4 separate regions of the Homo sapiens genome follow, and all the other regions are linked to region 1. Evidence: promoter capture Hi-C in 16 types of primary human blood cells and fetal thymus (Javierre and others, 2016). All regions are on one chromosome and are shown on one strand. The core of a region is centred on a gene start or on the middle of the fragment in contact, and the rest is flanking DNA. Distances in the headings are between cores, read along the strand shown. Region 1 holds the start of PPP1R13L (protein phosphatase 1 regulatory subunit 13 like). Region 2 overlaps FBXO46 (F-box protein 46). Region 3 overlaps PPP1R37 (protein phosphatase 1 regulatory subunit 37). Region 4 overlaps QPCTL (glutaminyl-peptide cyclotransferase like).

The links. Contacts are between HindIII fragments. The CHiCAGO score rates a contact against its expected background, and 5 or more counts as called.
Region 2: a contact is called between a fragment that was not itself captured here and the fragment with the promoter of PPP1R13L in region 1, in 3 of 17 cell types (naive CD4 T cells, monocytes and activated CD4 T cells). The highest score is 6.0, in naive CD4 T cells.
Region 3: a contact is called between a fragment that was not itself captured here and the fragment with the promoter of PPP1R13L in region 1, in 1 of 17 cell types (M1 macrophages). The highest score is 5.1, in M1 macrophages.
Region 4: a contact is called between a fragment that was not itself captured here and the fragment with the promoter of PPP1R13L in region 1, in 4 of 17 cell types (naive CD4 T cells, total CD8 T cells, naive B cells and 1 more). The highest score is 5.9, in naive CD4 T cells.

The regions. Positions count from the first base shown.
Region 1 is chr19:45,401,671-45,406,525 of GRCh38, forward strand. PPP1R13L (protein phosphatase 1 regulatory subunit 13 like) reads right to left here and starts at 3,399. Exons shown (of 13, transcript NM_006663.4): 1 at 3,329-3,399. RefSeq lists silencers at 746-995, 1,036-1,125 and enhancers at 3,285-4,080, 4,051-4,250. The HindIII fragment of the contact is 7,528 bases long and covers 1-4,855 here.
Region 2 is chr19:45,710,240-45,715,094 of GRCh38, forward strand. It overlaps FBXO46 (F-box protein 46), which reads right to left. Exons shown (of 2, transcript NM_001080469.2): 2 at 390-3,334. The coding sequence starts at 3,256. The coding sequence ends at 1,445. Among named protein-coding and RNA genes, the nearest start is that of FBXO46, 18 kb to the right of the region's middle. The HindIII fragment of the contact is 4,746 bases long and covers 451-4,855 here.
Region 3 is chr19:45,107,642-45,112,496 of GRCh38, forward strand. The region is part of intron 1 of PPP1R37 (protein phosphatase 1 regulatory subunit 37); the gene reads left to right. Among named protein-coding and RNA genes, the nearest start is that of PPP1R37, 17 kb to the left of the region's middle. The HindIII fragment of the contact is 859 bases long and covers 2,355-3,213 here.
Region 4 is chr19:45,694,061-45,698,915 of GRCh38, forward strand. QPCTL (glutaminyl-peptide cyclotransferase like) reads left to right here. Exons shown (of 7, transcript NM_017659.4): 3 at 1,377-1,658; 4 at 4,487-4,639; 5 at 4,741-4,840. Among named protein-coding and RNA genes, the nearest start is that of QPCTL, 3.8 kb to the left of the region's middle. The HindIII fragment of the contact is 4,323 bases long and covers 1-4,006 here.

The sequences.
Region 1 (4,855 bases), core at 2,149-4,648:
CAATTTGTCTAACCCAGAATTCTGAGTCTTTCTGTACCACATTCTACCTAACCCAGGGTTGCACTGCTCTGGAAGTCTAGATGGATGGTATAGTGCAGCTGGTAAAAGCATGAGTAAGAAGTCAGACTTCAAAAATTCAAATCTGAGGGCCGGGCATGGTAGCTTCTGCCTGTAATCCTTGCACTTTGGGAGGCCGAGGGGGGAGGATCACTTGAGGCCAGGAGTTCAAGACCAACATGGCCAACACAATGAGACCCCATTTCTTAAAAAAAATTAAAATAAAATCATCAAATCTGGCAGCACCACCGTCCAACCCTGACCACAGTACCTCAGTCTCGTAATCCGTAAAATGGGGATGAAAGTTCACCTCATAGGACTACTGTAAGAATCCACCTGGTCAGAAGGTGCAGGAAGAATTCAGAGCTCTGAGAATTGAGGCCTCAGGAAGAAGAGACTACAGGAATAAAAACTCGGGCATTTAGAATTTCAGAGATACACAAACAATACTTTGTTAACTGTTAAAATAGATAAATGAGCAAGTCTGTGCAGCCCTAATGCCAGCTGTAAGTGACTCTTTTTTTTTCTTTTGGTAGAGATTTAGTCTCTCTCGCGCCTGTGGTTAGGCTGGTCTCGAACTCCTAGCCTCATGGGATCCTCCCCGGCTCGATCTCCCAAAGTATTGGGATTACAGGCGTGAGCCACGGCGCCATGATCCCCAAATTTCCAAGATTCTCAGATTCCATACTGACATTCTCTGGCTCTCAGGAAATGCCAACCCTGGGTGTGGGGCTGTCGCGGGGACAGGCGGTGGGGACGTCGGAGCCACCAGGGGGCGGTCACGCCCGGACCCCCGCCAGGAGGGCGGACTGCGCCTGAGCTCAGGCCCGGGGAATGCGCAGCGGGCCCGGGCAGGTGCTGTACATCCCGGGGCAAGGGAGCTGGGCCGGGCGGGGTACAAGGGCGGGGCGCGGGGGTGGCGCGGGCCGTGTGTCTGTTCCCAGGCCTCTGCCCCTGACCTCTGCCTCCGAGTCCTCTCCCATGTGCTCCCCTCTAGCTCTAGCTCCGAGCTCTCCCGCGGGCTCTGGGCCAGCCGCAGGTACTCTCCCCTGGGCTCCTCTCTCCGCTCCACCCCTGGCTCTCCTTCCCTGGCCTCCTCTGCACCCCAGCCAGGTTCTTTAGGGCTAAGGATCCTGTGGACTTCCTGGAGGAGTCATCTTCAGTAGGAACCGGGTCAGAGAGCCAGACTGAGCTGGGAACACCCAGGCTGGACTCCTACAGCCCTGTCGGGTCACACTGAATCTGGAGAGGCTCCACTGTCTCTGGGACTCGGTTTCCTCCTTTGTGGACGTCTATGGAATGGGCTAGGGCCTTTCTTGCTCTAAGCCTCTACTTGGGCTTGTTATTTAGCTTCTCTGTGCCTGTTTCCTCATGTGGACCATGGGAAGAATTAATACCTTCGCCTCAAAGGGGTATGAGGATTGAGTGACATAATTTATAAGCCGTGATTAGAACAATGCAGTGCGCGAAATAAAGTTCACACATACAGGATTCATAATTACCAGATGTCCTTGGCTGTTCATTATAATAACACAGGGTCTGGCAACAGAGTGAGGGGTCCAGACTCAATGTAATTTTTTTTTCCCCTAAAAGGGCCCTTTCAACTCTTTCTGAGATCATACAAGCCCTGAGTTTTGACACCCAGGGTCTCAACTTCCTGAGCCCTTGCCTCTCAGAGTCCTAAATTTCCCCTGTACATTCCTGAGTCTGGCCAGTGATCACCCTCAGTCACTTAGGGACGGGAGGGCTGGGAGAGCCCTGGAAGATTCCAGACAGAAGCTGGCAAAAGCCCAGGGTGTGGGCAATATCCACTCTCCAGCCTCCGTTTCTCCACTCGTAATGAGGAGTCCTTCCCTGGGGTCAGCAAACCTTATTCAAAGGGAGACCTCTCAGTCACCCAAGATTCCTCTAGACAATGCGAGCTTTCCTACCTACCTACCTACCAGCTCTGAGCTTGGTACACCCAGAGCCCTGTTTTGGCAACCACGGTTATTATTTTTAATTTCATTTCAGGTTATCATCAAATGCCCTTCAAGCCCAGACATTGGGAAACACTCCTCTCTCATCAGATGCTCGCCTCCCCCATTCTGTTTTTAATCCCCCTTCTTAGGACGCATGGGGGTGGAGAGAACGGGGAGATAGACAGAGGGAGGTGCCTGGTCCTGCCCTCCCCCCGCCTCAAGGACAGACAGACACCTCCAGAATTAGCCTCTGTCCCTCCCTTATCTCCCACAATACCCCAGGTCAGACAGATGGGCGTGGAGGTGACATTTCTCACCTCAGGGTCAGGGCAAGGAGCCCTGAGGCAGAAGGTTAGTCAGAAAATCTGGCGGGGGCGGATGGAATCCCGTCCCCCAGAGAGCTGCAGAAGAAGGAGGAGGCAGAATCCTGACCCTACAAACTCTACTGCCTGTGTGAGCTCCAAGCCTCAGTTTACCCCTTCCTCTCCGTGTAATGGTTAAATGCCCGGCTATGCAAACCTCCCAGAATCCAATAGCCGCTTTCCGGAATTCTGCCCTGGGTTCTAGAACTACCTCTGCAAACCCAGCTGTTTCCCACCCCATAAGGCAATAGGGGAGCCCACCTCCGCCAGGGGGTGCCCTAGGGCGGATGTCCCTTCTCTGGTTAGGCAGGTCTGACGCCCAGGTTAATGACATGTTGGGTTCGCTCAGCGGCACAGAGGAGGTTGGAGATCTGCCTCGGTGTTTTCTCTCCTACCCCGCCCCCATCCCCGAGCCGAAAAGTCGGGGGAGAGCCGGGACACAGCCTCCGGAGGGACCCCGGGTACCTGTCCTGCTCCACTTCAGGAACCCAGGCTCCACTATCCCTGCCCCACCCTTAATTCTGCTCAGAGACCTAGAAGATCGGTCGAGACAGCAGCTTGAGGCTGGCAGGGTGGTCACCCATTCCACCTTGAGCCCCACCAGTCTGAGCCTCTCATTTCTGACCAAGACTCGGGGATTCGAACCCCTATACTACCCAAAGACTCGGCTTCCTAGAGCCCCCCAGTTCGAGGGACTCAGGAATTCCAGCTCCAACGTCTCCCCGGGATGAAGGGGTAGAATCCCTCCATTCCAAGAATTCAGGCATCCGAACCCGCTTTCCTTCCCTCCAGTAAAACAGGCAACGGAGTTTCCTTCTAAGGATCCAGGTGTCGGCGCGCCCCAAATTCCGCCCTGGGACCTGGCGTCCGAGTCCCCTCCCAATCCTCCCAGGGACGCGGGTGTTGGGCTTTTTCAGGGCCTCTGGTCCCCAGGAGGGTGAAACTCACGGATCCGGGCAGATCCTGGCACCTGGGGGCTTCCTCCAGCTCGGGCTCCGGCTTGGGGAGCGGAGAACGGGGCGGGGCAGGAGCTGGGAACAGGTTAGACGACGTGACTTGGGCTGGAGGGAGGCGGGTCCCGGTGGGGAGGGGGAGCCAAGGTCGCCTCGAGCACCTTGGGACTTGTAGTCCCGGAGGGACAGGACGTAGCCCAAGACGATCCCATTTGGATTCACCCAGAGTCCATTTCACAGACAGGAAGGGCGAGGCCCAGAAGCCGAGAGCGACCAGGCCAGGGAGATACAGAAGAGCCGAGACGCCTGCCTCGCTGTGGCTGGAGACTGACTCCTGAGCCCTTGCCCCACCCCTTCAGGCGCACTATCCCCTTTCCTGATCAGTATCCCCCAGGGTCTCTGAGCCCGAATCTCCCCGTCGATAAAAAGCGCGGGTTGGATCTTCAAAGGATGTCCCAGCAAGAGTTCAAAATCTTAGTTTGGACTACAACCCCCAGCAGCCTCCGCGACCGCCCTCGGGCGACTCTTTGCCTCGGGTCCTGTGGGAATTGTAGTCCTGGAGCCCGCAGGGGCTGCACCCCGGTGTCTCTCTCGCCCACGCGAAGGAAACCGTCTGGAGATCCTGGATAGGGGAAACATTTCCCCTTCCCCTTGACCCTCCCTCCGCTCTGGAAAGCCTCTCCCACCTGGGGAGAAGGGGTGCCCCAATTCTGGAGTAGGATCCTAAATCTTGGCAGAGGGGGCGGGAAGTGGCGCTGACACACTGGCCAGGAATGCAGTCGGGTCACCCTGTCTAGCCACCGTCTCGCGGCTCCAACCGCCGCCCAACGCGGGGCGGCCCCAGTGGGAAGGGAAGTGGGTGCGTCCCCCAAATCTGTGTCCACGTGCCGCTGTTTACACGCTCCCTGGGGCAGGGAGGAGTCGCCGATCAGGTCCCTTCCTGAAAGTCATCGAGGTTTCCCACGCATGAGACTAAACCCCCGAGGGCATCTACAAGTCCCATTTGATCCACAAACGCTACACCGTGCCCAGCACCACTCCACGCGTGTGGGGCTCCTGGGTCCGAGGCTCCGCCCTCGAGAACCACAAGCTCCTCCCCCTATGTTTCCCGCTCCCCCGGAGTCCAGAAGCCCCGCCCCTGGCTGGAACTTCACGCCCTCCGGACGGATTGCCCCTATTTCTCCATTTTCCCGCTTCTCCCAGTCAAGTTCTGAACTTGTGAGGCATCTGGGCCTCCCCAGAAGACATTTAACACAGAAAGCACAGCCCTACTAACTAGTATTCTTACCTGTCTCTTCAAGAATTTCAGACCAATCGACCGTCCTGTCTCTTTAAGGCTTAGGAAGAGCAGTGTGGCTGCCCCTTTAAGGAGGCGTTGCAACAAACCATATTGGACAGACGATGGGGGCGACCCATCGGGACCCGACGGGCCTCTGACTCCAGCAATACAGCGAATCAGCGGCTTTCGGGAATACATTTTTCGGAAAAAGACTTCTTCCTCGGTTTTCTGCTCTGCACACGT
Region 2 (4,855 bases), core at 1,574-4,073, 310 kb after region 1:
AAAAAATTTAAAAATTAGCTGGGTATGTGGCGTACACCTGTAGAAAACCCAGCTGCTTGGCAGGTTGAGGTGGGAGGTTTCCTTGAGCCCAGGAGGTTGCTGCAGTGAGCTGTGATCATACCACTGCACTCCAGCCTGGGTGACAGAGAGAGACCCTGTCTCTAAGGGAAAAAAAAAAAAAAAAAAATCTTGTTCAAGCTACTACTATTTTGAGATTTTTCAAATCCAAATTGACACAGATGAGAAGAGTAAAAAATAATCTCAGGCTAAGGGACTTGGCTAGGGATCCCTTCTCTTTCCACTTTTTCCATCCCCCATACACAGGCCTACAACTCCCCTCTCTTCCCAAACCCTCCCTTCACAACACACAAACCAGTCTGCACACAGCCTTATAAATATTGATTTTATAGAAAGGACCAATTCAAAATTGGTCAGATGCCACACGCTAGAAGCTTCCAGAACCACGATGGAAAGAAAAAAAAGAAAACAAAAAACAGAGAGAACAAACAAAAATACCCCAGACCAAAATGCCTGAAAAATCAAGGTCCTGGTTGACCAAAGGATTCTTAAAGAAACATGTGGCTGGGGTGAGGAGACCCCAATGCCTGAACGAGACCCCAGAGTGGAAGGAAAAACAACCCAGAAATGCAAATCCGAAGTCCCTGCCCACGGGGCCCCCCCACGCTGTCAAAAGCGAGGCAAAGGGCTTCACAGCTTTATGGGGGTGGGGTTGATGGCAGTAGCTTAAATAATAACGGGAGGAGGAGGGTTTTTATACTTCAGCTTTTTTTTTGTCTGCCCCCCTCTTCCTCTACGCGGAAGAGGAGAGACTGGTAGCTTGAGGTTAAGGAGAAAACAGTATTTCCCCCCCACTTCTTTAATAGGCAAACCATCTAGAAATGGACTGTCATAAAAAAATGCCAGATCCCACCTGTGACCTGACAGCCCCCAATTCCTAGAGAGGTGAGAGCTGTCGTGTGGCAGGTTAGGAGAGGTGCCAACCTTGGGCGATGCGGCTTCTTGGGAAATAACAGCTCCAGCGAGAAAGAATTGGGGTGAGGGAGAGGATGGGGGCCAGAATGGGGGGACCCTTAAGTGGTACCAAAATTAGCTGCCGTCTGCTCCCTGCTGGTGGGTCCTTGGGGTGGAAAGCATGGCAGGGAGGGGGTTGGGGCTGAATGGAGAAGAAAGTGAGATGCTGATAAAAAAAAAAAAAACACCCTTCTCAGAGGGTCCACGGCCCTGGTTCTGAAGAGTAGAAAATCAACAGGATCAAGCAGAGGGCTTTCCTGGGTCACCCCTGCTGAACCCCAGCTCAGTTCCGGTGAGGGATCAATGCTGCCTGGAGTAGGGGAATGGGCAGGCGGCCCAGTCCGGACCCTCGGCTCCCGGGGGGAGAGGGGAGGGGTGGGCGTGGTGGGCTCTCCCCTCCCCTCCCCCGGCTTCACCTCCCCTCCTCCCGGCCGGCCCGGCCCCCGCCTGGCCCATTGCAGGGCAGCACCCAGTTGTTATCGTGGAGGCCCAGGCGGCAGCCGGGAGTCTCGCGGTCGGCTCGACGGCAGCACATCCAGTAGGAACGTCCGTAAGGCAGGTCATGGTGGTAGGGCTTGGGGTGCCAGCGGCAGAGCGACACGTCGCCCTTCTCGTATCTCTTGCGGCACTGTTTGCACGGATCATCGCGGTAGAGCGGGTCTCGGCTCCAGCGCGAGTCTGTGGCCCGCACGCCAAACGCCTCGATGATGCCCTTGAAGTGGTGGCAGGTGCACTTGAGGGCGGCCAGCGCGCGCGTGGGCAGGAAGCTGAAGATCTTGACCAGCACGTGCTCGGGCAGCAGCAGCATGTACTGTCGCGGCTCCAGCAGCCGCTGAATCTTGAAGCGGATCTCTAGGAAGTCGTGCGACACGTGCCGGTACAAGCGGCACAGGGAGGTGTCCGCCGTGCCCTCGGCATCGTCTGGGCCGGGCGCAGTGGCCGGGGAGTCGGCCGGGGGTGGCTCCGGGGGCCCGTCCGGCCCGCGGTTCTGGAGAAAGAAGAGCTGGCCCGGAGGCGGCGGTTCCTCCGGGCTGACCGTCAGGCACACAGTCTCCTCCTTCACGTTCTTGGTGCCGTCCTTGCCAAAGAAGATGCACTCATCTACCACGCCCGTCACCACCACGTCCACGTGGAAGCCTGACGCTCCGCAGTCCCGGGCAGGGGGCGGAGGGGGCGCCGGGGGAGTGTCCTCAGGCCTGGCGGGTGCCGGGCTGTCACCCTCACTGGCCTCATCCGCCCTGGCCAGCAGGAACTCCACGTTGCTGGGGAGGGCATCCCGCGAGGGGCTGATGAGCTGGTATAAGTCACATGTGATCTTGTCCTTGGCTCGGGCCCCAGGACCTGGGCTGCCAGGGTAGGCACAACCAGGCCTGCCCCCGCCCCCACTGGGCAGGCCGCTGTCTGGTGCACGGGGCTCCCGGCCGTTGGAGATGCGGAAGGCGATGCGCACCTCCCCAGGGCCTGGCCCGGGCCGCTCTTCCTTGCGGAGGCCCTTGGTGGGAGGGCTGTCCCTCTGCGCTTCAAAGTGGGCCACGGCCTCGGCTACACGGCTGCAGTCCCCACCACCGGACCGCCGTTCAGATCCCACCCCCTTGGCCGGTCCACCTTGCTCGGCGGACACAAAGACTACAGGCGCTGGGGTGGTCGGTCGTGGGTAGCTCTGCAGGGCCAGGGCTGCCCGCTGTTCCACCAGGGCCACCATCTCGGCCACAGAGAGCAGGTCCACGTCCTCACCGGCTGAGGCGGGGCCCTCCTCAGCAGCAGGGGGGCCCTCCCGGCCCCCTGGGTCAGGAGGAGCCTTGGTGGGGTCAAGACAGCGCCTCCGCCGCTTGGCCTTGGAGCTATCGCTGCCCCAGTGCCCCTTGACCTTCATGGAGCTGGCCCGGCTGCCCCCACCACACTGGTGGGCCACAAAGAAGGCCACCTTCTCCTTTGTATTCCCGGGCTTGATGACATACCACGTGTCCAGGAGGACTCGACCCTCATCACCAGCAGCTGCTGCTGAGAGGAGCGGAGCCGGCTGGGAGGCAGGGACCTCAGTGGCCAAGGCGGGTGGTGTGTTCTCTGAGTGGGCAGGCCCATGGTCTGGCTCGGCCCCGCCACCAGGCTCAGGGCAGGCTGATGGCTTGAGGGCCGCAGAAGGCGGGCGTGGCTGGTTCTGTGAGTAGGTGCCAAAGGGCCGGGGGCACCATAGCTGGAAGGGCAGGAGGCTCCCACGGTCCATGCTGGGGGATGATGGCAGACAGGCTGGGCTTCAGCGCATCTCAGGACCTAGGTGGTGGTGGGAGGCTCCACATGCCACCTGGAGACACGAAGAGGAGGTTGGGGAGCTAGGGGGACAGCCTTTCTTCCCAGGACCACCCCAACCTCCACCTCTCCTTAGACCAAACCAGACCATCAAGAACTCTATTCCTGGCTGGGCGCGGTGGCTCACGCCTGTAATCCCAGCACTTTGGGAGGCTGAGGTGGGCAGATCACCTGAGGTCAGGAGTTTGAGACCAGCCTGGCCAACATGGTGATACCCCATCTCTACTAAAAATACAAAAATGTGCTGGGCGTGATAGTCCACGCCTGTAATCCAAGCTACTTGGGAGGCTGAGGCACGAGAATCGCTTGAACCTGGGAGGTGGAGGTTGCAGCGAGACCAGATGGCACCATTACACTCCAGCCTGGGCGACAAGAGCGAAACTCCGTCTCAAAAAAAAAAAAAAAAAAAAAAAGAACTCTATTCCCACTGCCATGCTCAGGTGAGCAGACAGAGGTTGCAGAGGGGATGAGAGATGCCCTTTTAACTTGCAGAGCGGGACCCTAACTGGCAGCACGCACCAACCCCATAGGTCCTACCCCACTGTCCAACTGCCTTTGCCCACAATCCAGAGGCCTTTAAACTGCCATAACTTTTACACTTAAGTGAAAGGACCACTGACAGACAAGGTCCTTTTTCTATTTGCTCACTCAGTAGCTCGTTCCTGAAAAGACAGAAATTCCCAGCCCCACCCACAGCTATGGCTGCTTAAACCCACAGAGAGAGGAACGAAATGCGCTGGGATGGGGATGAAAATCTGAGGTCAGATTCAGACAAGCACTTAAGAAATCGGCTTTTCTTTTTTTTTTTCAGGTAGTGGGGCTTAATGAGAATTTATTAAAGCTGTGTGTCCTCAGTCAGAAAAATGCACACCCTTGCAAAGACAGTACAGGGGATTCCCTAAAGCACAGCCGTGGACCCGCGGAGTAAGAGGGCCTGTTCTAGAGCCTAGGAGGAGTTCCAGGCTGCAGGGAGCAATGATGGCACCACTGCACTCCAACCCGGGTGACAGAGTGAGACCCTCTAAAAAACAGAGAACAAAGCCGGGTGTGGTGGCTTGTGCCTGTAATCTTAGCACTTTGGGAGGCCGAGGTGGGCAGATTGCTTGAGCCCAGGAGTTTGAGACCAGCCTGGGCAAAATCCATCTCTACGAAAAAAGATACAAAAATTAGCCGGGTGGGGTGTGGCGCACCTGTAGTCCCAGCTAGTTGGGAGGCTGAGGTGGGAGTATCGCTTGAGCCCAGGAGGTGGAGGCTGCAGTGAGCTGTGATGCTGTGATCATACCACTGCACTCCAGCCTGGGTGACTGAGAGAGAACCCATCTTGGGAAAAAAAAAGAAAGAAAACACGAGGGTGCCTGTTCTAGCCTAGCTTTCTCCTCAAGCTGCACACAGATAAACAGAGGCTCAGAGTGGGGAAGGGTGACATAGCTAAGATTACAGTGGGTCCGGAGCAAAAAGAGGCTCTCAACTTGATTTCTGGACTCTTCAATTTAGGGCTCTGTTAATGACTATTTTA
Region 3 (4,855 bases), core at 1,534-4,033, 290 kb before region 1:
TTGAGTTGTGAGAGTTCTATATACGTGTATCCCGGATGCAGGACTTCTCAGCTGAGCGATTTGCACCACCTGGGATGTTTTCAGCGTGTAATGCCAGTGCATTTCCTTCCCGTCTCTTCTCTCTGGCTAGATTCACAGCCACCGCTAGATAAAAATAAAGCTGTGAGGATACTGTAGATACAGTTGAATATCCTGCTTCTGCACTTCATTTTTCCGTTTTTTTAGAAAGCATGATTTAAAGTACATCACTGGGCTGTTGTAATTCATTCTAGCCATTTCCGCATTGCTGAGCGTTTAGGTCCTTTCCAGTTTTCAGTTGCATAGATAATGCAGTGATGTTCGTCCTTGTCCATAAATCTTCATGCTCATCACACGGGTAGCCTTCTTAGAAAAAATTCTTAGAAGGTGATTTTACCAGGTCAAAGGGAAGGAACATTGGAAGTCTCAGATACTGGCTGTGCCCACATTGGACAGTGAGTGTTGAGGGCTAGGGTTCTGTCGTCATAGTCACCACTGTAGCTTTAGATTTTTTTCTGAGAGAGGGTCTCTCTCTTTTTTTCTGCTTTTGAGGTTTAAACCATGGCCAGAGACAGGGTCTCGATCTGTCCCTCAAGCTGGAGTGCAGTGGCGTGATCTTGGCTGACTGCAAACTCCACCTCCTAGGCTCAAGCCATTCTCCTGCCTTAGCCTCCCGAGTAGCTGGGATTATAGGCGCGCACCACCACGCCCGGCTAATTTTCGTATTTTTAGTAGAGACGGGGTTTCACTGTTGGCCAGGCTGGTCTCAAACTCCTGATCTCAGGTGATCTGCCTGCCTCAGCATCCCAAAGTGCTGGAATTGCAGGCGTGAGTCACTGCACCTGACCAGATTTTTTTTTTAATGATTGAATGAATAGTATTTGCATGTGGGTGCCTTGATGTTAAGATGGTGTCTTGTTTTAGCGAGCGTTCTTTTGACTACTAGTTAACTTCGGTTTTGTTTGTTTGTTTTGTATTTTTGTGGGTTTTTTTTTTTTTTTAATGGAGTTTCACTCTTGTTGCCCAGGCTGGAGTGCAATGGCGCGATCTCAGGTCATCACAACTTCCGCCTCCCAGGTTCAAGCGATTCTCCTGCCACAGCCTCCCGAGTAGCTGGGATTACAGGCATGCACCACCACACCCGGCTAATTTTGTATGTTTTGTAGAGACAGGATTTCTCCATGTTGGTCAGGCTGGTCTGTAACTCCCGACCTCAGGTGATCCACGCGCCTTGGCCTCCCAAAGTCTGGGATGACAGGCGTGAACTACCGTGCCTGGTCTTTTTTGTTTTTTGTAGAGATGAGGTCTCGCTATGTTGCCCAGGATGGTCTCGAACTCCTGGCCTCAAGTGATCCTCCTGTCTTGGCCTCCCAAAGTGCTGGGATTACAGGCATGAGCCACTGCGCCCGACCTAACCTGTTTATTGTTAACATGTTACATGGTTCTGGGAATTGGTTCTTCATGCCCTTTGCCTATTTTTATTTTGGGACCTTTATAAGGACTCCTCTATTGAAGATAGATGTAATTTTATTGTGCAGATATATTTGTCCTCATTTATCATTTGCCTTGCAGGAAAGGTGGGGGACAGGGGTGCAGGACACTAAAGAGAAGCACTTTCTCCTCTGCTATTTCACCGAGTCATCATAGCAAAGCCCCATCTCAGTGTGAACAGCTTGGGATGGAGAAACACAGGGCTGGGGCCCTCAGAGAGGGCAGAGGAGGCAGTGGCAGCCCAGGCCTTGGAGGCCCTGCAGTGTAGGAGAGAGGGTGCTTTAGTGGAGGCCCGGCCTGGGAAAAGGGTTAGCAGGTTACAGAGGGTCCACTGTAACCACAACTCCAGCCCCATTTGCTGAGCACCAGGCTGAGTGACTCGGTGAACCTGCTGGTGCCCCACATTTTTGCAGATAAGAAACTGCTACTTGGGGTCATTGGTCACTTGCTGAAGATGGCAGAAGCCAGGGCAGCCCTGCCTGGGTCCCTGGACACATCCAGCCCACCACAGCTATGGAGGCTCAGCAAGTCCCAGGAGCCTCAAGTTTCAGCAGGAGCCTGGACTCCCTCGTCTCCCACAGCCATGGCCACCACGTCATCAGCACCCTCTGTATGAGGGTCCTGTATGTCATGTGCTGTTTCCTTCCAGTAGCTTCCTGACTCTTCAGGAATACTGTTCTTTGCCCTGAGGATCTGTCGCCCACCTGCATCTGCAGCCTCAGCTCTGCTCCCCCTCTGCCCTGTTGGAGGGTCCTCAGAACCGACTCTTCCCTCTGTCTGGAAGGATGGCCTGGACTTTTGTGTGGCTCCTGTTGGCTTATGGCCTCCTGTCCCCATCCAGTGTAAGCTTCTTGAGATGGGATGTCTGGCTTTTTTGTTCACCAGTGTAGCCTGGCACCTAGAATAGTGCCTGGCATAGAATAGACAACAATAAATATTTGAAGGAATTAATGAATTCCCTTTTTCTTTTTTTTTTTTTTGTTGAGACAGAGTCTTGCTCTGTCTCCCAGGTTGCAGTGCTGTGGCGTGGTCATGGCTCACTGCAGTCTAGATCTCCTGGGCCCAGGTGATCCTCCCGCCTCAGCCTTCTGAGTAGCTGGGACCACAGGCACGTACCACTACACCTGGCTAATTTTTGGATTTTTTGTAGAGACGGGGTTTCCCTGTGTTGCCCAGGCTAGTCTTAAATTCCTGGGCTCAAGTGATCCTCCTGCCTTGGCCTCCGAGAGTGCTGGGATTACAGCCATGAGCCATTGCACCTGGCCACATTTCTTACTTTTACTCATCTTTTAGGTCTCAGTCGAAATGTTCTTTTCTCTTATGGGTCTTTTCTAACTATTCCTCCAAATCTGAATTTGTATCCCCTGTGTTTTCCCCTATAATATGCATTTTCTTCTTATAACTGGTAAATTTTTGGGTGATTTGTTTGCCTTCCTCCCAGTCCTTGAGGGCAGGGACCAGCCCTGTTTTGTTCACGGCTGTCTGCCTAGCCCAGGTTGTTGCATAAAGAATGAATGAATGAAAATATGTTCATTAGTTCCCAAACAGACCTCTGAGGGTTGGTGGCATTACCCTCTTGTTATGAAGGAGGAAGGTGAGGGTGGGCAGTAAGAAATTCCAAGCACCTGGTTTCCATCACTGGAGCCTTTGCTGGACCAGTAAACAGCTTACAGTTTCTAAAATTCCAATCTAAAGCACTCCCAAAGCTTCTGAATTCAGATGGCCATCTGGTACCCATGACCAGAAGCCTGAGGCAGGTGGCCCGAAATAGCCTGCCTGGTTCTGGCAGGACTGAATGTCTACCGATGAGTGCTGGGCTTTCCTCAGAGGCCCCCTTTCCCGAGCCTGGCCCTGTCACCTACTGAGGACTTGGGTGGGTGGCAGTGCTAGGAAGCATTGAGCCACTAAATGACTCAGCAAACCCTTGTCAAGCACCTCGGTGCCCCCAGCTCTGCTGAGTCCTCTGCCGGATTGTCTTGCCTGTATGCTCATTTGACCCTGACAGTGATCTTCAGTTCCCCAAGGCTCCAAGAGCTCTGTCTCCTCTGAGCCTTTGCACATGCTGTTCTGTCTGTTGCAACACTCTTCTCCCTCCCTTCTGCTTTTTAATTATTATTATTATTATTATTATTATTTTTAATTGAGACAGAGTCTTACTCTGTCACCCAGGCTGGAGTGCAGTGGTGCAATCTCGGCTCACCACAACTTCTGCCTCCCGGGTTCAAGCAATTCTCCAGCCACAGCCTCCTGAGTAGCTGGGATTACAAGTGCGCACCACCACACCCAGCTAACTTTTGTATTTTTTTAGTAGAGACAAGGTTTTGCCTTGTTGGCCAGGCTGGTCTCGAATCCCGACCTCAGGTGATCCGCCTGCCTCGATCTCCCAAAGTACTGGGATTACAGGCATGGGCCACCTTGCCCAGCCCATTTATCTTCTTGGCATATGGAATATGTATGTAATGTACATGTAAGTTGTTGAAGTGTAATATGTTGAAGACCTGTGAGCCTCCCTCCTAATTTCAGAGTGAGAACATTGCCATTAACTCACCTCTGCCTGTGGGTGGGTGGAGGGAGCCCACTGTCCTGACTGTTGTCATTGTCATTCTGTGTTTTTTATTTTTTGCGGGGGGCGGGGGTGGATGGGTGAGGGACAGGTGTGTCAGGTTCAATAAAAAGGGAAAGGGTCATCAGGTGGCCTTTTTAAAAGTTTTATCAACCATGTCTGCATGCTGAAAAGCATGGTGTTTCGTTCTGCCTGTTTTTGAGTTTCATAAACATGGTATTGTGAGGAAATTCCTGGGTCTTGGTTTTTCTTTTCTTTCTTTTTTTTTTTCTTTTGAGACAGTCTCGCTCTGTCGTCCAGGCTGGAGTGCAGTGGCATAATCTTGGCTCACTACAACCTCTGCATCCTGAATTCAGGCGATTCTCCTGCCTCAGCCTCCCAAATCCCAGCTGGGATTACAGGCTCCTGCCACCACACCTGGCTAACTTTTTTGTATTTTTAGTAGAGACAGGGTTTCACCATGTCTGTCAGGCTGGTCTTGGAACTCCTGACCTCAAGTGATCCGCCCGCCTCTGCCTCCCAAAGTGTTGGGATTACAGGCATGGATTCCTTCTGATACATTTCACCTGGAGTGCTGGGATGACAGGCGTGGGATTACCTTCTGATACATTTCACCTGGGGCGTGAGCAAGACTTTCGCTAGAGTCTGGAGCTAGGAACAGAATGGCTGGTCATAGTTGATGAGTACATTTGGCTTCTCAAGGTAATGCCAATCTTTCTGAAGTGGCTCTCGCCACCTTTTACCTGACTGACTCCTGCTTGTTCTCCAAGAGTCTCCTTCCTG
Region 4 (4,855 bases), core at 595-3,094, 290 kb after region 1:
TCTGTTGTCTTCCAGAAAGCATGAAGAGTCATTTAAAGGCCAGGCGCAGTGGTTCACACCTCTAATCCCAGCACTTTGGGAGGCCGAGACAGGCAGATCCCTCGAGATCAGGAGTTTGAGACCAGCCTGGCCAACATGGTGAAACCTCATCTCTACTAAAAATACAAAATTAGCCAGGCGTGGTGGTGGGTACCCGTAGTCCCAGCTACTTGGGAGGCTGAGGCACGAGAATCACTTGAACCCAGGAGGCGGAGACTGCAGTGAGCTGAGATTGCGCCACTGCACCCCAGCATGGGTGACAGAGCGAGACTCCATCTCAAAAAAAAAAAGTCACTTAAATACTGCCTGAGTCCCAATGCTACCTCATCCACTTAGATTGTGACCTTGGACTGGTTTCTTTTTTATTTTATTTTATTTTATTTTATTTTGAGATGGAGTCTCACACTGTCGCCTGGGTTGGAGTGCAGTGGCGCGATCTCGGCTCACTGCAACCTCCACCTCCCAGGTTCAAGCAAATCTCATGCTTCAGCCTCCTGAGTAGCTGGGATTACAGGTGTGCACCACCATGCCTGGCTAATTTTTTGTATTTTTAGTGAGACGGGGTTTCACCATATTGGCCAGGCTGGTCTCAAACTCCTGACCTTATGATCCGCCCACCTCAGCCTCCCAAAGTGCTGGGATTACAGGCGTGAGCCACCGCGCCCGGCCTGGACTAGTTTCTTAACCTCTCTGAGCCCATTTCCTCATCTGTAAAATGGGGTCATGTATTGGCAGTCCCTCCCCTAAATGGTTCCTAGAAGAGGGCTTAGCACACAGTGAGAGCTATTTAAGGGTAAGCTGTGATGAGTCTTGCTGGCTTCAAGAGGTGGGGTCTCCCCAACATCTGGCACCCAGTAGGTACTCACCAGCACTGTCAAGGGAATGATTTTAATCAGAGTAGGGGGCTGGGCACAGTGGCTCACATCTGTAATCCCAACACTTTGGGATGCTGAAGCAGGCAGATCACTTGAGGTCAGGAGTTCGAATACCAGGCTGGCCAACATTGTGAAACCCCATCTCTACTAAAAATACAAAAAATAGCCAGGCGTTGTAGGGGGCGCCTGTAACCCCAGCTACTCAGGAGGCTGAGTCAGGAGAATCACTTGAAGCCAGGAGGCAGAGGTTGCAGTGAGCCAAGATCAAGCCACTGCACTCCAGCCTGGGTGACAGAGCAAGACTCCATCTCAAAAAAAAAAAGAAAGAAAGAAAGAAATCCATTCAATCAGAGTGGGGCTTTAGTGTCAACCCATCTGCTCTGCATGGCTCAGGTCACGTGGCCCTTCTCCCCACCTCCTCCCCAGTCCCCGTCCACCCTCCCACCTCTCTCTTGCCGCTAGTTCCTGGAGGCCACGCTGCGGTCCCTGACAGCAGGTTGGCACGTGGAGCTGGATCCCTTCACAGCCTCAACACCCCTGGGGCCAGTGGACTTTGGCAATGTGGTGGCCACACTGGACCCAAGGGCTGCCCGTCACCTCACCCTTGCCTGCCATTATGACTCGAAGCTCTTCCCACCCGGATCGACCCCCTTTGTAGGGGCCACGGATTCGGCTGTGCCCTGTGCCCTGCTGCTGGAGCTGGCCCAAGCACTTGACCTGGAGCTGAGCAGGGCCAAAAAACAGGTGAGGAGCAGGAGTCGGGGAGGGTAGTGGGCTACCTCCACCTTTTCCCAAGCCCCCACCCTCCCTTGCCTGGACATTTGTCATCCCTCTCGTCTTCCCACTCTACTCCACGCACAGAGCCACAGGGATCTTTTTTTTTTTTTTGAGACGGAGTTTCGCTCTTGTTCCCCAGGATGGAGTGCACATGGCGAGATCTTGGCTCCCCGCAACCTCTGCCTACTGGGTTCAAGCAATTCTCCTCCCAACCTCAGGTGATCTGCCCACCTCGGCCTCTCAAAGTGCTGGGATTACAGGCGTGAGCCACCGCGCCTGGTCATCACAGGGATCTTTTTACCTTCTAGATGTCAGATTCTCTTTCCTCTCCCCCAAACCCTCCCAGGGCTCCCGCCTCATTCCAGCCATAATCCAGAGTCCTTATATTGGCCCACGAGCTGTGCCCTGTTACCTCTCCAGCCTCATCTCCCACCCCTCACCTCTTGCTCACTCTGCTGTAGCCACCCCCACCTCCTCTGGGTTCCTCAAACCCGCAGAGCTTGCTCCCACCTCAGGGCATCTGCACTTGCTGTTTGCTTTGGATAGAATGTGCTTTTCTGGCCAGGCTCCGTGGCTCACACTTGGAATCCCAGCACTTTGGGAGGTTGAGGTGGGTGGATCACAAGGTCAGGAGTTCAAGACCAGCCTGGCCAACATGATGAAACCCCATCTCTACCAAAAACACAAAAATTAGCCAGGCTTGGTGGTGCACACCTGTAACCCCAGCTACTCGGGAGGCTGAAGCAGAGAATTGCTTGAACCCGGGAGGCGGAGGTTGCAGTGAGCCAAAGTTGCACCACTGCACTCCAGCCTGGGCAACAGAGCGAGACTCCATCTCAAAAAAAAAAAAAAATTATCTGGGAGTAGTGGCATGCTACTTGGGAGGCTGAGAGGGGAGGATGGCTTGAGTCTAGGAGTTTGAGACTGCAGTGAGCCATGATCGTGCCACTGTATTCTAGCCTGGGTGACAGAGACCTTGTCTCTTAAAAAAAAAAAAAAGAATATGCTTTTCATAGATATCTTCCTGGCTGGCTCCCACTCTTCACTCAGGTGTCCACTCCAATGTCACCCCTTCAAAGAGGCCTTCCCGGCCGGGCGTGGTAACTCGCACCTGTAATCCCAGCACTTTGGGAGGCCGAGGCAGGCAGATCATTTGAGGTCAGAAGTTCGAGCCCAGCTTGTCCAACAGGGAAACCTCATCTCTACTAAAAATACAAAAATTAGCTGGGTATGGTGGTACATACCTGTAATCCTACTACTTGGGAGGTTGAGACAGGAGGATCACTTGAAACTGAGAGGCGGAGGTTGCAGTGAGCCGAGATCGCACCACTGCACTCCAGCCTGGATGACAGAGCGAGATTCTGTCTCAAAACAAACAGAAAAGAAAAACACAGGCCAGGTGCGGTGGCTCACACCTGTAATCCCAGCACTTTGGGAGGCCAAGGCAGGTGGATCGTGAGGTCAGGAGATTGAGACCATCCTGGCTAACACAGTGAAACCCCGTCTCTACTAAAAATACAAAAAGTTAGCTGGGCGTGGTGGCGGGCGCCTGTAGTCCCAGCTACTTGGGAGGCTGAGGCAGGAGAATGGCGTGAACTCGGGAGGCAGAGTTTGCAGTGAGCCGAGATCGCGCCACTGTACGCCAGCCTGGGCGATACAGCGAGACTCCGTCTCAAAAAAAAAAAAAAGAAAGAAAAAAAAGAAAAGAAAAGAAAAACACAGATTTAATCATGCTCCTGCCCTGCTTAACCCCTCTCTGTGCCTCCCCAGTGTCCCTATAACAAAGCCCACACTCCTTGGCCCTTGCTAAACCTTCCGTACCCCTCTCAAACCTCTGGGACCCCTTCCCTGGCCATAGCCTTGCCCTGTGTTGCTCCCTTGGCTGGGAATACTCTTCCTCCTGCTCCATTTTGCCAGGCCAGTTCCTACCCATTCTCATGGCAAACATCCCTTCCCAAAAGACCCAACGCCCTCTCCAGGCCAGGTCATCCCCCAGCCTCCTTCCTATGCCCTCTCAGGACTCTATAGTTCTTAGAAGCATTTGTCTCAACTGCATTTCACTGTTTGTATAATTATTCATTTGTGGATCTATCTGGTTCACCAAACTGAGCTTGAGGAATAATAATCAGAGATAACCCTTATTTAGTTATATGCCAGGCACTGTTCTAAGACCTGGATTCAAACCTTACCCTTTGAAAAGAACTGTTATTGCCGGGCGCGGTGGCTCACATCTGTAATCCCAGCACTTTGGGAGGCTGAGGTAGGTGGATCATTTGAGGTCAGGAGTTCGAGACCAGCCTGGCCAACATGGTGAAAGCTTGTCTCTACTAAAAATACAAAAATTAGCCAGGCATGATAGCGGGAACCTGTGGTCACAGCTGTATGGGAGGCTGAGGCAGGAGAATCTCTTGAACCTGGGAGGTAGGGGGTGGAGGTTGCAGTGAGTCAAGATTGCATCATTCCACTCCAGCCTGGGTGACAGAGCAAGATTTATTCTAAAAAAAACAAAAAACAAAAAAAAAACAAAAAACCTCTTATTAACCCCATTTATAGATGAAGAAACTGATCCTTCCAGAAGTTAGTAACTTCCCCATGCCTGCTTTGTTATGAAGCAGCCAAGTACGGATTTGATCCCAGACAACTGACTCGGAATCTGTGCTCTTGGCTACCACGTTCTATGAGTGAGGACACCTTATGTGTTCTCTTAAGCATGCAAGCGGGCAAGAAGTGTGGGTATGTTGAGGCTGAGGGCTAGTCCTGAGCTGGCTCTGGCCACCCCCCTGCTGCTCCCACAGGCAGCCCCGGTGACCCTGCAACTGCTCTTCTTGGATGGTGAAGAGGCGCTGAAGGAGTGGGGACCCAAGGACTCCCTTTACGGTTCCCGGCACCTGGCCCAGCTCATGGAGTCTATACCTCACAGCCCCGGCCCCACCAGGATCCAGGCTATTGTAAGACCAGGGTCCCCTGGCTTCTGGCGAGGGAGGGAGCAGGTTAAGCAGGGCTGGCGTCATCCTGCACGGGCCCCTCCAGTCCTAGCCTTTCTCCTTAGGAGCTCTTTATGCTTCTTGATCTCCTGGGAGCCCCCAATCCCACCTTCTACAGCCACTTCCCTCGCACGGTCCGCTGGTTCCATCGGCTGAGGAGCATTGGTAAGGGTGAATGCG